3 separate regions of the Homo sapiens genome follow, and regions 1 and 3 are each linked to region 2. The links are contacts of gene promoters, found by promoter capture Hi-C in blood cells and fetal thymus (Javierre and others, 2016). All regions are on one chromosome and are shown on one strand. Each heading gives the region's core, a stretch centred on a gene start or on the middle of the fragment in contact. The rest is flanking DNA. Distances are from core to core; before and after follow the strand shown.

Region 1 (4,599 bases), core at 146-2,645, 360 kb before region 2:
TGGGTAACATGGCCAAACCCCATCTCTACAAAAAAATTAGCCCAGCATGGTGGTTCACGCCTGTGGGTCCCAGCTACTCGGGAGGCTGAGGTGGGAGAATCACTTAAGCCTGGGAGGCAGAGGTTGCAGTGAGCCGGGATCATGCCACTGCACTCCAGCCTGGGTGATACAGAGACCCTGTCTCAAAAAAAAAAAAAAAAAAAACCAGGAAAAAAAAAAAAAAACAGTAAGAGAAAACCTCCAGCCTGGGTGACAGAGCAAGACCCTGTCTCTAACATAGATAAATAAATAAATAAACATTTAAAAAACCTATCACAAATGATACAAAATCAGTTGAGTAGCATTGATGAAGGGAAAGGAAAGATGGGGTGAGCTATCTCTAAACCAAAGAATCATAGTGCAGGCCAGGCCTTATGCTGGGGGCTGGGGTCGTAATGAAGAATATGGCAGTCCCAACAGAAGAGGGAGCACGCATTTACCGACTCATGTGTGCCAAGTGCTGGGCTCAGAGCTCTATCTGAGAATCTCATTTGATCCCCATAACAACTCCATGTGGAAAGAACTGTTGTTTTCAAGCCCCGTTTTCAAATGGGGAAAAGGGTTCACGGAGGCTAAGTAAGCAGCCCATGTTCACACAGCTAGTAGTGGTGGAACTGAGATTTGAACTCAAAGGCCCGGCTTTTAACCACTTCATATTTCATATACAGGGAATGGCGGGTGAGAGAGACCACAGCAACTTCCAGGAACTGTCATTCCTGAAAGTAACTCTGTGTCGCTGAAGAATGTCAGAGAAGAATTATGACGGGCTGGAAGGGGCCCAGTCATTAAAATCTTGAAGGCTATGTTAAAGGGTTTCGACTCTACCCGCGGGCAGGAGGGAGCCACAGAAGGTGCCAGGCAGGGGGGATGGTCTGATCAAGTCTGACTTTTAGAAAGATTATTCTGGCACCAGAACGGGGAGGAAACAGGTCGGGTTAGGAGGCAGCTGCTGTAATGCAGAAAGGTCACGAGGGTGGCGGACACGGTGAGGAAGAGGGATCCGAAGGATTCCGAAAACGGAACTGGCGGGCGGGAAGAGGCCGGACCAGGGTACCCAGCCGCGGAGGCCGTGTGGCCCTGGCTCCCCGCGGCCCCGCCCCGCCCCTCCCGGCGCCCGAATCCCGGGTCCCGGGAGCTGCCGCCTCACCTTGGCCATGCGGATCATGCGCTTGGCTACGTCCAGGTCGCCCTGGTGGTTCTGGCCGATCTCGGCAATGATGAAGCACGGGTGTTGCCCGCCCACCCAGCGCCCGGGACACAGCTCCAGCTCCAGCGGCATTGCAGCGGCTCGGGGTCCAAAGCCTCACTACCAGTCTGGGTCCGGCCGCCGCCGCCGCCGCCTCTACTCTGTTCTGTGAGCAACGCTGCGAGACCCACACGCCAGCCCCGCCACGTCAGCCCGCGGTCGCCGGGCAGCCAATCCCCTAGGCCCCGCCTCTCTCCCGACAGCCAATCGGGGCGGGGGGCGGGGGCGGGGCCTCCCGCGGGAAGGGCGGCGGGGCGGGTCGAGGAAGCTCCGCGGCCCTCTCCTGTGCGAGGCTTGAGGCTTGCTGTCCCAGAGCGTGGTCTCGGACCATCGCGGTATCCGTGCGTGCACCCAGGAGCAAGCATTCCCTGCAGGAGGCGGACGGCTGCCTGCGCAGGGCATAGTCTATGTCCTGCTCTCAGGAGCATGGGGAGAGCGCGCCCTATGGTGTAATGGAAAAAACAGGGTTGCTAGAGTTAGAATCACAGAGCTGGATCGAGTCCAGCCTATGCCAGTCACCAGCTCCTGCTCATATATACGTTACTCAGTCTTCCGGAGCGTTATTTTTGTTTCTCTCTGAAGCAAAAAAATAAAATAGAACTGTGAGATGACGTATAGAAACCCCTGATCACAATACTTGGCTTGTAGTAAGTTTTCAAGAAGTGGCGGAGGTTCCTATTATATGAGAGGCAACAGGTTCGAGAAGTTGCACTGGCTTGTCCAAAGCCATCCAGAAAGCCAAAGCAGAGATGGGACTAGTACCCGGACCTCCCAGCCCCAGGCTCTTAAAATACAATCACCTGGGCGGGCGCGGTGGCTCACACCTGTAATCCCAGCACTTTGGGAGGCCAAGGCAGGCAGATCACCTGAGGTCAGGAGTTCGAGACCAGCCTGACCAATATGGAGAAACCCCGTCTCTACTAAAAATACAAAAAAATTAGCCGGGCGTGGTGGTGCGTGCCTGTAATCCCAGCTACTCGAGAGGCTGAGGCAGGAGAATCGCTTGAACCCGGGAGGTGGAGGTTGCAGTGAGCCCAGATCACACCACTGCACTCCAGCCTGGTGACACTGCAAGACTCTGTCTCAAAAATAAATAAATTAATTAATTAATTTAAAAAATAAGATAAGTTATTTCCCAAAATAAACCTCCTTCTTTCCTGGGAACTAGACTGCCTTTGTAGGACTAACAAATTAGCCACAAGATTAGACACGTAGGAGTCATGCACCTGGAGGCTACAAGATTCTGACCCTCCCCAAATTGCTCCTGGGGATAACATCACTATTGTAAAACCTAAGACCAGTGCTTGAGATATTTTGCAGACCCTGCACTTGATGGATCAGCTGGCACCACCAGATTGATAAACTGGTTCATCTGATCTTGTGTCCCCCAACCAGGAACTGACTTGGCACAAGAAGACAGCCTTGACTTTCTATGATTTTATCTCCAACACAACCAATCAGCACTCCTGGCATACTGGCCTCTCTTAACCCACCACATTATCCTTAAAAACTCTGATCTCCAAGGTGGGGCATAGTGGCTCACACCTGTAATCCTAGCACTTTGGGAGGCTGAGGCGGGTGGATCACCTGAGGTCAGGAGTTCGAGACCAGCCTTGCCAACATGGTGAAACCCTGTCTCTACTAAAAATACAAAATGAGCCAGGTATGGTGGTGCATGCCTGTAATCCCAACTACTTGGGAGGCTGAGGTAGGAGAATCGCTTAAACCTGGGAGGCGGAGGTTGCAGTGAGCTGAGATTGTGCCATTGCACTCCAGCCTGGGCAACAAGAGCGAAACTCCATTTCAAAAACAAACAAACAAAAACCCCAAAAACCTCTGATCCCTGAATGCTAGGGGAAATTGATGTGAGTAATAATAAAACTCAGCCAGACTGCACAGCTGGCTCTGCATGAATTACTCTCTCTATTGCAATTCCCCTATTTTGATAAATCAGCTGTGTAGGTAGTGGGCATGGTGAACCAGTTGAGCAGTTAAAAATTTGGGGGCTCATTCGGGATTGCTCTTGTGCTACCTGCCCCGGTTCTGTAGACCCCCTCTGGCGATGGATCCAGAGGCCAGCCCAAGCGGCCACCTAGTTTTGGACTGGGGGCTGACTCTGGCGTCATCTCTATCGGCAGGGCACTACTAGCCCAATATGTATGGAGTACACTTTGCAATAGAGAAATTGTCCTGGGGAGATATCTCATAACTAGAGCTCCATGGCAAGGTGTCCCTCTGTAGCTCCACCATGGGGTGCCTGTAACTGTAACCTTATCACAGTGTCTGTTTGTAGCCCCATCATGGATTGTCTGCAGCTGCAGCCCCATTATGGGGTGTCTGATTTGGTGAGTAGTCTAGGTGCTGCCAACACCCCTTTCCTTCTCCCAATTGGTTCAGCTTCTTCAGGGGTCTCGGTTTACTCTCCCTAATTAGTAGGAAGAGTCTTGGTTCTGGAGACTTCTCCTCAATCAGTAAGATTTCGGGGAGACTTCTCAGATGGAGAATAGGATAGTTTGGAAGGAATACTCTTGGAATTCTTGGTTAGGGATCTTGGTTTGGAAGGCCTTCTGTCCGTCTTGTCTTTGTGTGTGTGTTTGTATATGTGGAGGGGATCTCTGAGGGAATTTCTGATGCAAGTCCAGCAGGCCTAACTCAGAAAACCCTCTGTAAGTATGGTCACATTCAGTGAGCTCTGAAAAAAAAGCTTAACAGGCCTGACTGTTAAGGGGTAACTCTCTGCTCTTTGTCTTGCCCAGAGACTACTCATTGATGCCATCCCTCCCCACCTTGAGTGGATCAAAGATGATAGGGACCAAAGGAAGACAGTTTGAGCCTTGCTAGGGTGATACTGGGTGCCCAATGAGGTGACTACTATCTGTTTTGTTATGTGTATTTTGCTTCAGCTGAGACGGAAAATGTTAATTCGGTTCTCCATGCAGCCCATCGGGCAGCATCTTACAAAGTTGAGAAGCTTTGCCTATGGTTCCATAAAACAGAAAAGGATGATATTTATTTATTTATTTATTTATTTATTTATTTTGTAGTGGGCTTGGCCCCCACAGCTATAGCATAGTGAACAGTTATCAAAGGCCGCTCCGTTCTTCTGGAAGCTGCAGAGAAAGGGAACCTGGAAACCTGGTATGCCGGCAAAAAGGGTAACAACTTATTAGCCAACTTTCTGGCCTGTATGTGTGTGTGTGTGTATGTTAAACATCACTGTCTCCTCTACAAAGGTCTGATTAATAGAAAAAAAGACTTATGAGACTAGTTTAGGCTATAGAAAATCTGGTGTACTTAGTGCTATGAATTTGTTT
Region 2 (4,520 bases), core at 1,575-4,074:
GGGGCATCTACCTCCATGGTCAACCCAGAGCTGGCAATCTAGGCTTGTAGGCCTTTTGTAATGCCCAACCTCATTTTTCCTTTTTCACCTAGGCTTGTTTCCACCTGAACAGACTCTCCCTTAGCTAAGAGAACCAGACAAACTCCATCTTGGCTCTTTCACTGGCAGCCCCTTCCTCAAGGACTTAACTTGTGCAAGCTGACTCCCAGCACATCCAAGAATGCAATTAACTGATAAGATACTGTGGCAAGCTATATCCACAGTCCCCAAGAATTCATCTGTTTGATAACGCCCAAAGCCCTGCATCTATAACCTTGTAATAGTCTTAAAGCCCCTGCATCTGGAACTGTTTACTTTCCTGTAACCATTTATCCTTTTAACTTTTTGACTACTTAACTTCTGTAAAATTGTTTTAACTAGACGACCCCCCCTTTCTAAACCAAGGTATAAAAGTTAATCAAGCCCCTTCCTCGGGGCCGAGAGAATTTTGAGCGTTAGCCGTCTCTCGGTCGCCGGCTAATAAAGGACTCTTAATTCATCTCAAAGTGTGGCGTTTTTTTAACTCGCTCGGGTACAACACTTTTACTTCCTCTTCGTGGTTCTTCTTCATGAAGAGCAGCTCCTCCTTGAGAGCTTCGATCTCTGTCTCCAGCTGCAGCCGAGTGACACTGGTGTCATCAGTGACCTCCGGAGCCCATGGATGTGGCTCTCCACAGACTGGCGCATGGCCAGCTCTGTCTCATACTTGACTCTAAAGTCATCAGCAGCAAGACCAGCATTGTCAATCTGCAGAACAATGCAGGCATTGTCCACAGTATTTGTGAAGATCTGAGTCCTCAGGCCCTCAATGGTCTTGAAGTAATGGCTCATCTCTGACCTGGGGTCCCTTCTTCTACAGGTGCTCCTGGATTTTACTCTCCAGCTTCCAGTTCTTGGCCTCCAGGCTCCTCATTCTGTCCAGGTAGGAGGCCAGGCAGTTGTTCAGGTTTTGCACGGTCTCCTTCTTGTTCTGGATGCCTCTCATTCCTGCCAGACCCCTGGCCATCCCCGCGGCCAGGCCCCCGGAACCCATGCTGCTCAGGTAGCTGGTGGAGCGGGACATGGAGATCCGGGAACCAGAGCCCCCGTGCCTGTACAGACGCTGGCTATGCTGCTGACCAGCCGGACACCGTAGCTGGGTGCCTGGACAGAACCCAGGGACCGGTAGTTGGTGGAGAAGGTGGAGCGAGTGGTGAAGCTTATGCTGTCCAGGGAGGAGAGTGAGAGGACAGGACTCAGGCTTTGCCGACGACTTTAATTTTTTTTTGAGACAAGATGTTATTGTGTTGCCCAGGCTGGAGTGTAGTGGTGCCATCACAGCTCACTGCAGCCTTGACCTCCTGAGATGGGTTCTTGTTACATTGCCCAGGTTGGTCTTGAACTCCTGGTCTCAAGCAATCCTCCTGTGTTGGCCTCCCAAAGGGCTGGGATTACAGACATGAGCCACTGCACCTTGCCAATTATTATTATTTTTTAATAGTGACAGGGTCTCACTGTGTTGCCTCAGCTTGTCTTGAACTCATGACCTCAAGTCATCCTCCTGCCTTGGCCTCCCAAACTGTTGAGATTACAGGTGTGAACCACTGTGCCCAGCCTAGTTTTTAATTTTAATGAAGTCCAGCTTTTTTTCTTTTGTTGCTTGTGCTTTTGATGTTATGGAATTTGAAATAGTTTCACCTGGGCAAGATTGATGGGTAGGGAGAAAGAAGGATCTGAGGGGAAGGGAGATGGGGATGGCTTGAGATTCTATCTCCAATTCAACCTAAGATTTCAGCAGGTAACTGCTTTATACGAGGTTTTGCAGCTTTATGTATATATGACCGATAAATTAGAACACTGAATTGTGTTTCTGAAAGGTTAACCATTGAACATTAGTGGGAAACATCAGTGTGTGAGGTTGTCTTTCTAAAAGCCAGTCCTAAATGGTACATGTAGTAATTAGAAGTTAATGTTTTCTGGTTTCAATTAAGCATTATTTGTAACAAAGGGAAAGCATACATTTTTGGGAAAGCCTGCTATGTTTCTTTTGTTACACTAGCCACACTTTTGGGAAGTCAGGATATTTGGCCCAGATCCAAACCCACTGTCTACCTGGCAGTAGCTCATCCTCACTGAAGGAATATTCCATGGGAAAGATAGCCAACCTTATGCATATCAGCCTTGGAGCAAGTCCTGCATTTGCCTGAGGTCACACAGCAAGTTAACTGGGAGTTTCAACCCAGGTCTTCTCATTTTAAATCTAAGGCTGTGTCTCTAGGCCGTGTATCCAACATAAAATCAGGACTATCATCTGTTGGGCTCTATGACTGGCACTACTACTACTCACTGTTACCATTTTTTGAGGTCTTCTACGTGCCAGGTTATTGTCCTGGCAATCTAATCCTCCCAAAGACTCGGTAAATGGTTCCATAATTATCCTCATTTTACCACTGAAGAAACTGAACTCTGGTTAAATAACTTGCCCAAGGTCACACAGACTTTAACTGTCAAGAGCTCAGACTTAACCCAGGCCTGACTCCAAAGCCTATACTCTGAATCACCAAGCGAGACCTATTTTAAAGGTGACCAGGTCGTGAGATATGATCTCAGCACGGACCCTTCTCCCGGATGACAAGAGAGCAGGTAGTTAGGCGGGTACTCCGTGTCCGCGCATACCCAGACTCCGCCCAGCGCCCGGGCAGGCCACCCCGAGCCCCTTAACTGCGCAGGCGCTCTCACTCAGAAAGGCCGCTGGGTGCGGGGAGCGCAGAGGCGGTGCAGGGCGGCTGGCTCGCCTCGGCGTGCAGTGCGCGTGCGTGGAGCTGGGAGCTAGGTCCTCGGAGTGGGCCAGAGATGGCGGCGGCCGACGGGGCTTTGCCGGAGGCGGCGGCTTTAGAGCAACCCGCGGAGCTGCCTGCCTCGGTGCGGGCGAGTATCGAGCGGAAGCGGCAGCGGGCACTGATGCTGCGCCAGGCCCGGCTGGCTGCCCGGCCCTACTCGGCGACGGCGGCTGCGGCTACTGGAGGTTTGGGCCGCGTCCGCGCTTTCCCCTTCCCTCTCCCCGCCTCCCCGGTCCCCAGACTGGCTCGTGCAAGCCGAGTCCCGGGGCCCGGGGGTCGCGTCAACTCCGCTGGCGTATGTGTGCAGATTCTCCCCGAGTCGGAGAGGGAATCCGCCCAGCCAGCCGCCTTGTCAAAGCGTCCTGTCCACGACCACAGAGCGTTCCTCTGTCGCACGCGGGCCTCCTGACCCCCAGCCCCGGGCCTTCTTCGCTGCACCTCGGCTGCTGGCAGCTTCGATTTTTCGTTTAGGGATGCAGCCGCCCCGGCCGGGAGGTGTCAGCCACTGCCAGGTGTCAGGGCCTCAGCTGTCCCGGAAAGAGGAGTTAGACTAGTTCTTGATTCTGGCCTCTATACCTAGAACTAGTTGATGGAAGAGGCAGATCTTGGTGTTTGTTAGGGAGAGCTTTCAACAATTAGAGTTGCCAAAAGTGCAATGGATTGCTTCTCATGAGCTTCCCGTTACTAGAAGCGCTCAAATAGGAACTGGAAGAACGCTTACTTATGTGGAGGAGAGGAGATTCAGCAATCAGAATCTCCTACTCAGCAATCAGAAGAAGGGACTGGATAGTAAACCTTTAAGATTCTAATCCATAGATTCCATGAGTCTATTTCTTGGACATGTGACCTCTGCGATTTCTTGGCAAAAACTAGTTGCTCAAAACGTGTTTATTGATTGAAGTAAATTAAGGACTGATCTCTCATTGCAGATTATTCTCTTATAGAATTTGCCACTGGGGTCAACTAATAATCTTTAACAGGATACTTAAAATATAGTTTGGTTGACAGGCAGTTCTTCAGGGCTGCCTCTATAACATGAAGTACATGTGTTCCTAAAGCTCTATACTGCCCTTTGTCGAGCACAGTTTAGAGCTGTATTACTCTTTTTTATCAGCCAGATGTAGTGAGAGTGAGAAGAGTCTGAGGCTGGCAGCATGTCTTGATGTTCATACTAACACCGAAACTGCAAATTCCAGCTACTTTTGATGGTACTGGTCTCATCCTTTCTACTTTATAGTGGTTACCTTTTATTCCTTTCTAAACTTGAGGCACGCTAGAGTCAGACAGAAAGTTCATTTGCACTGATTAATTCATAGTCATGATTCCATAAAGGTTTCCAGGTCTACGACATGGCTGTGGAACGGAAGGTGCAAAATAGCAAAAACTGACATTAAATTAAACTTTTGATCATGGAAAGCAAGGTAGAATGAACATTCTTTAAGATTTCTTAGGCAGTTCCCCAAGAACTGAACTGTATTGTAGCATTGTGTACAACCCACCATGTTTCAAGAGTTAGGTAAGTGCTGAGATTTTTATCTTTGTGACACTTTTATTTCATGGTACTATACAATTTTCTTTTTCTCTGTGTGCCATGACATATGCCATGAAAGACTGAAAAAACTTGCTTAGAATACGAAGAGTGGTGCTAAGGTCCTGGGGAAA
Region 3 (3,964 bases), core at 1,394-3,893, 320 kb before region 2:
AATGCCAAATAAACCAGTTCTTTGGTGTTTTAACATGAGCTTACAATGAGAGTATAATTTAAAAATGTAAGCATACAACTAGGCTTTACCAAAGAGTAACTGTTTATTTCGCTTAAATTCTTAAAAATACTTTTTTGGCAGTTGTCACATAAAATGTCCTAATGTAAAAAAAATAATAATAATAATTAAAAAGCAAAGCATGAAAAAACAGACCCAAAATGTTAAGATTTTATTTACAAAGCTTTTTTGTTGTACAGAAAGTAAAAATGCTGTTACAATCTCAGTGTAACTGGTAGCCACAGACGGTTGACTCACCAATCACAGCTATCCACGCTACAGCAAGAATCTTACACAAAAACCTAACAACGCTTACAATTTTGTTGGGGTGAAGTCCACAAGCTTGGTGGTAGATTACCAAGAGGGACTACATGGAAGGAAGGCGGAATGTCACAGGAACTATTCTTTGGCTCTTTGGGTGGGTGGGTGTCCTGGGGTTTGTATCACAGCTACCTTTTTTTTTTTTTTAAACAGCTACAAAATCCATGAGCAGTCCAACCAATACTGAACAGTTCTGTTTCTGCAGGTCATCTGGGGTCTTAATCATCTTCTCCTTCATCATCTGTTTCTCTCTTCCTCTTTTCACCTTTCCCACCTTCTTCCTCCTCTGTACAGTAACAAAAATTGACTTTAGGACAGTGGAAAGGCATTTTGCTTAGATTATTGCCAATGGAGGCAACAACAACAAAGTTTTTGACAGTTAGGAGATAAAACAATGTAAACTTGATCAGATTAATATAGGTGACTAATAGCAAGTATAAGTGGTGACCACAGAACCAAGAAAAGCAAAATGCACAGCAGCACCTCAACTCACCCAGGAAAAGTTAATCCAGTTTCCTCGATTTTAAGGTGTTGTCTTCCAAATGTTTCTTTTTACAAATCTAGCAATTATTAAAGTGCTTATTATTAACCTGAGCTGGTCAGGCCCACTGGCTCATGCCTATAATCCCAGCACTTTGGGAGGCCAAGGCAGGCAGATCACCTGAGGTCAGGAGTTCCAGACCACCCTGGCCAACATGGTGAAACTCCGTCTCTACTAAAAATACAAAAATGAGCCAGGCATGGTGGCATGTACCTGTAATCCCAGCTACTCTGGATGATGAGGCATGAGAATTGCTTGAATCCGGAAGGCGGAGGTTGCAGTGAGCTGAGATTGTGCCACTGGACTCCAGCCTGGGTGATAAGAGCGAAACTGTCTCCAAAAAAACAAAACAAAACCCCTCGTGCTATCTAGCACGTCTTCAAGACATGCTTACTTTCAAGTGATCTCAGACAAGCTTAACCTCTTTAAGCCTTTTTCATCTGTAAAATGGGGACAATGGTACTGACTTTAAAAGGTTATTCTGAGAATTAAATAACACACAAAACATAGTATGGAACATCATTAAGACTCAAATTGTAGCAAACTAATATTAACTAAAAAGGAAATTCTTAAGAGTATTATGTAGTCGAGACACAGAGACTTACATATAGACCAATTTTTTCAACTAATAAAATCCATGGTTATTTTAATGAAATTAACTATATGTTAAATCATATTTCATACAGGTTGTTTTTTTTTTTGAGACAGACTCTGGCTCCGTCGCCCAGGCTGGAGTGCAGTGGCTTGATCTCGGCTCACTGCAAGCTCCGCCTCCCGGGTTCATGCCGTTCTCCTGACTCAGCCTCCCGAGTAGCTGGGACTACAGGCGCCTGCCACCACACCCGGCTAATTTTTTTGTATTTTTAGTAGAGACGGGGTTTCACCGTGTTAGCCAGGATGGTCTCGATCTCCTGACCTCATGATCCACCCGCCTCGGCCTCCCAATCATACAGGTTCTTAAAGGCAGTGACCAGGTCCTAACCAGGGTAATATCTAGTGTAAATGTAATTGAGAGCTTGACAAAGTGGATGCTGAGAAAACATCAGCCAACAGCACAGTGAACACCTGATTTTCTGAGACACAACCATGAGACTTTTTATTTGAGACAAGGTCTCCCTCTGTCACTCAGGCTGGAGTGCGGTGGCACTATCATAGCCTCACTGCAACTTCAAGCAGTCCTCCCACCTCAGCTTCCCAAGTAGCTGGGACTATAGGTGTGCACCACCATGTGCAGCTAACTTTTTTTTTTTTTTGAGACAGAGTCTTGCTCTGTTGTCCAGGCTGCAGTGCAGTGGCATGACCTCAGCTCACTGAATCTCTGCCTCCTGGGTTTGAGTGCGTGCCACCACGCCTGACTAATTTTTTAATTTTTAGTAGAGACAGGATTTTACCATGTTGGCCAGGCTGCTCTCGAACTCCTGACCTCAGGTGATCCACCTGCCTCGGCCTCCTAAAGTGCTGAGATAACAGGCGTGAGTCACCACACCCGGTCCCAGCTAACTTTTTAATTTTCTGTACAGACAGGGTCTATGTTGTCCAGGCTGGCATACTTTCAACAGTATTAAATAAGTAACAGCTATTTCATTTGTCTTGGTTGTAGTGGGGAAAGGACTAACACTGACAAAACTGGGAAACTGCTACATCTATTTATATATCCTGAAAATGATGGTTCAATTATTAAAGCCTTTTTTTAAAAAATGAAAGAACTCCAAACACAGAAACTCACACTTGACAGTAAACCAAATGACTGGTCCTAAAAACACATTTAAAACATGGGGAACAGGCTAGGCATGGTGGCTCACACCTGTAATCCGAGTAATTTGGGAGGCCGAGGTGGGTGGATCACTTGAATTCAGCCAGGAATTCAAGACCAGGCTGGCCAACATGGCAAAACCCTGTCTCTACTAAAAATACAAAAATTAGCCAAGTGTGGTGGTGCATGCCTGTAATCCCAGCTACTGAGGAGGCTGAGGCAGAGAATCCCTTGAACCTGGGAGGTGGAGGCTGCAGTGAGCTTAGATTGCACCAGTGAACTCCAGACTGGGCGACAGAGCAAGACTCCATCTCAAGAAAACAACAGGCCGGGTGTGGTGGCTCACGCCTGTAATCCCGGCACTTTGGGAGGCTGAGGCGGGTGGACCACGAGGTCAGGAGATTGAGACCATCCTGGCTAACACGGTGAAACCCCGTCTCTACTAAAAATGCAAACAATTAGCTGGGCGTGGTGGCAGGCGCCTGTAGCCCCAGCTACTCTGGAGGCTGAGGCAGGAGAATGGCTTGAACCTAGGAGGCGGAACTTGCAGTGAGCCGAGATCGTGCCACTGCACTCCAGCCTGGGCAACAGAGCGAGATTCCGTCTCAAAACACCACCACCACCACCACCACCCCGAAAAAAACCCCATGAGGACTGAAGACCAACAGGACCCTTGCCATGAGACAGGAATAACTGCTGTAGCAGCAGGGAGCCTGCACCAGCACAGACACACTGATGGGACGATAGAAACGAGAATGTGAATGTGTAAACCACCAGAGCCAAGAGTATTTTATTTTCTTCTCAGTGGTATCATATTCTAAATAATGGATGTTTTTCTCTAATTTTTAACTGAGAATGATCAAAATGCATGCATTAGGCCCACCTTCATCCTCATCCTCATCTTCATCTTCTTCATCAAGTCCAAATTCTTCTTCCTAAAGAATAGCAAACAGCATAACATTAAATTAATTCTGCCAAATTGAAAAGTGCATATAGTACAAATTCTGCCAAACTAAGAAGTACAAATAAATGCAACAATATCAATCAAGCAGGAAACTGTAATGTTATTTTTATCTACTTTGATGTACCAAGACCCACTGATTTTCCTTAACGAGCTTTATAATTTTTCTAAGAAAAATTTTTTTTAGAAGCAAGCAGTTCATTTGCTAGATGTTTAATTAGTATATAACTCTGGATAATTCAAGAAAACATCTTAAAATCTCAAATTTCAAAACAGATTTAGACAAAAATTTCTATATCCCATTCATATACAAAGCTTCTTTCAGAACTTT

Evidence for each region. Contacts are between HindIII fragments. The CHiCAGO score rates a contact against its expected background, and 5 or more counts as called.
Region 1: the fragment with the promoter of NANS here is called in contact with the fragment with the promoter of XPA in region 2 in 1 of 17 cell types (neutrophils); the score reaches 5.3 in neutrophils.
Region 3: a fragment that was not itself captured here is called in contact with the fragment with the promoter of XPA in region 2 in 1 of 17 cell types (neutrophils); the score reaches 6.3 in neutrophils.

The regions. Positions count from the first base shown.
Region 1 is chr9:98,053,528-98,058,126 of GRCh38, reverse strand. It overlaps NANS (N-acetylneuraminate synthase), which reads right to left and starts at 1,395. Exons shown (of 6, transcript NM_018946.4): 1 at 1,187-1,395. The coding sequence starts at 1,318. It also overlaps a transcript of TRIM14 not described here. RefSeq lists enhancers at 677-796, 1,837-1,886 and silencers at 1,047-1,216, 1,297-1,646. The HindIII fragment of the contact is 20,554 bases long and covers 1-3,991 here.
Region 2 is chr9:97,695,644-97,700,163 of GRCh38, reverse strand. It overlaps XPA (XPA, DNA damage recognition and repair factor), which reads left to right and starts at 2,824. Exons shown (of 6, transcript NM_000380.4): 1 at 2,824-3,043. The coding sequence starts at 2,872. PTCSC2 (papillary thyroid carcinoma susceptibility candidate 2) reads left to right here. Exons shown (of 11, transcript NR_147055.1): 11 at 93-539. It also overlaps the pseudogene KRT18P13. RefSeq lists a silencer at 2,663-2,762 and enhancers at 3,313-3,362, 3,373-3,432. The HindIII fragment of the contact is 4,221 bases long and covers 1,240-4,520 here.
Region 3 is chr9:98,012,064-98,016,027 of GRCh38, reverse strand. It overlaps ANP32B (acidic nuclear phosphoprotein 32 family member B), which reads right to left. Exons shown (of 7, transcript NM_006401.3): 6 at 3,556-3,607; 7 at 85-664. The coding sequence ends at 597. Among named protein-coding and RNA genes, the nearest start is that of ANP32B, 31 kb to the right of the region's middle. The HindIII fragment of the contact is 2,614 bases long and covers 1,337-3,950 here.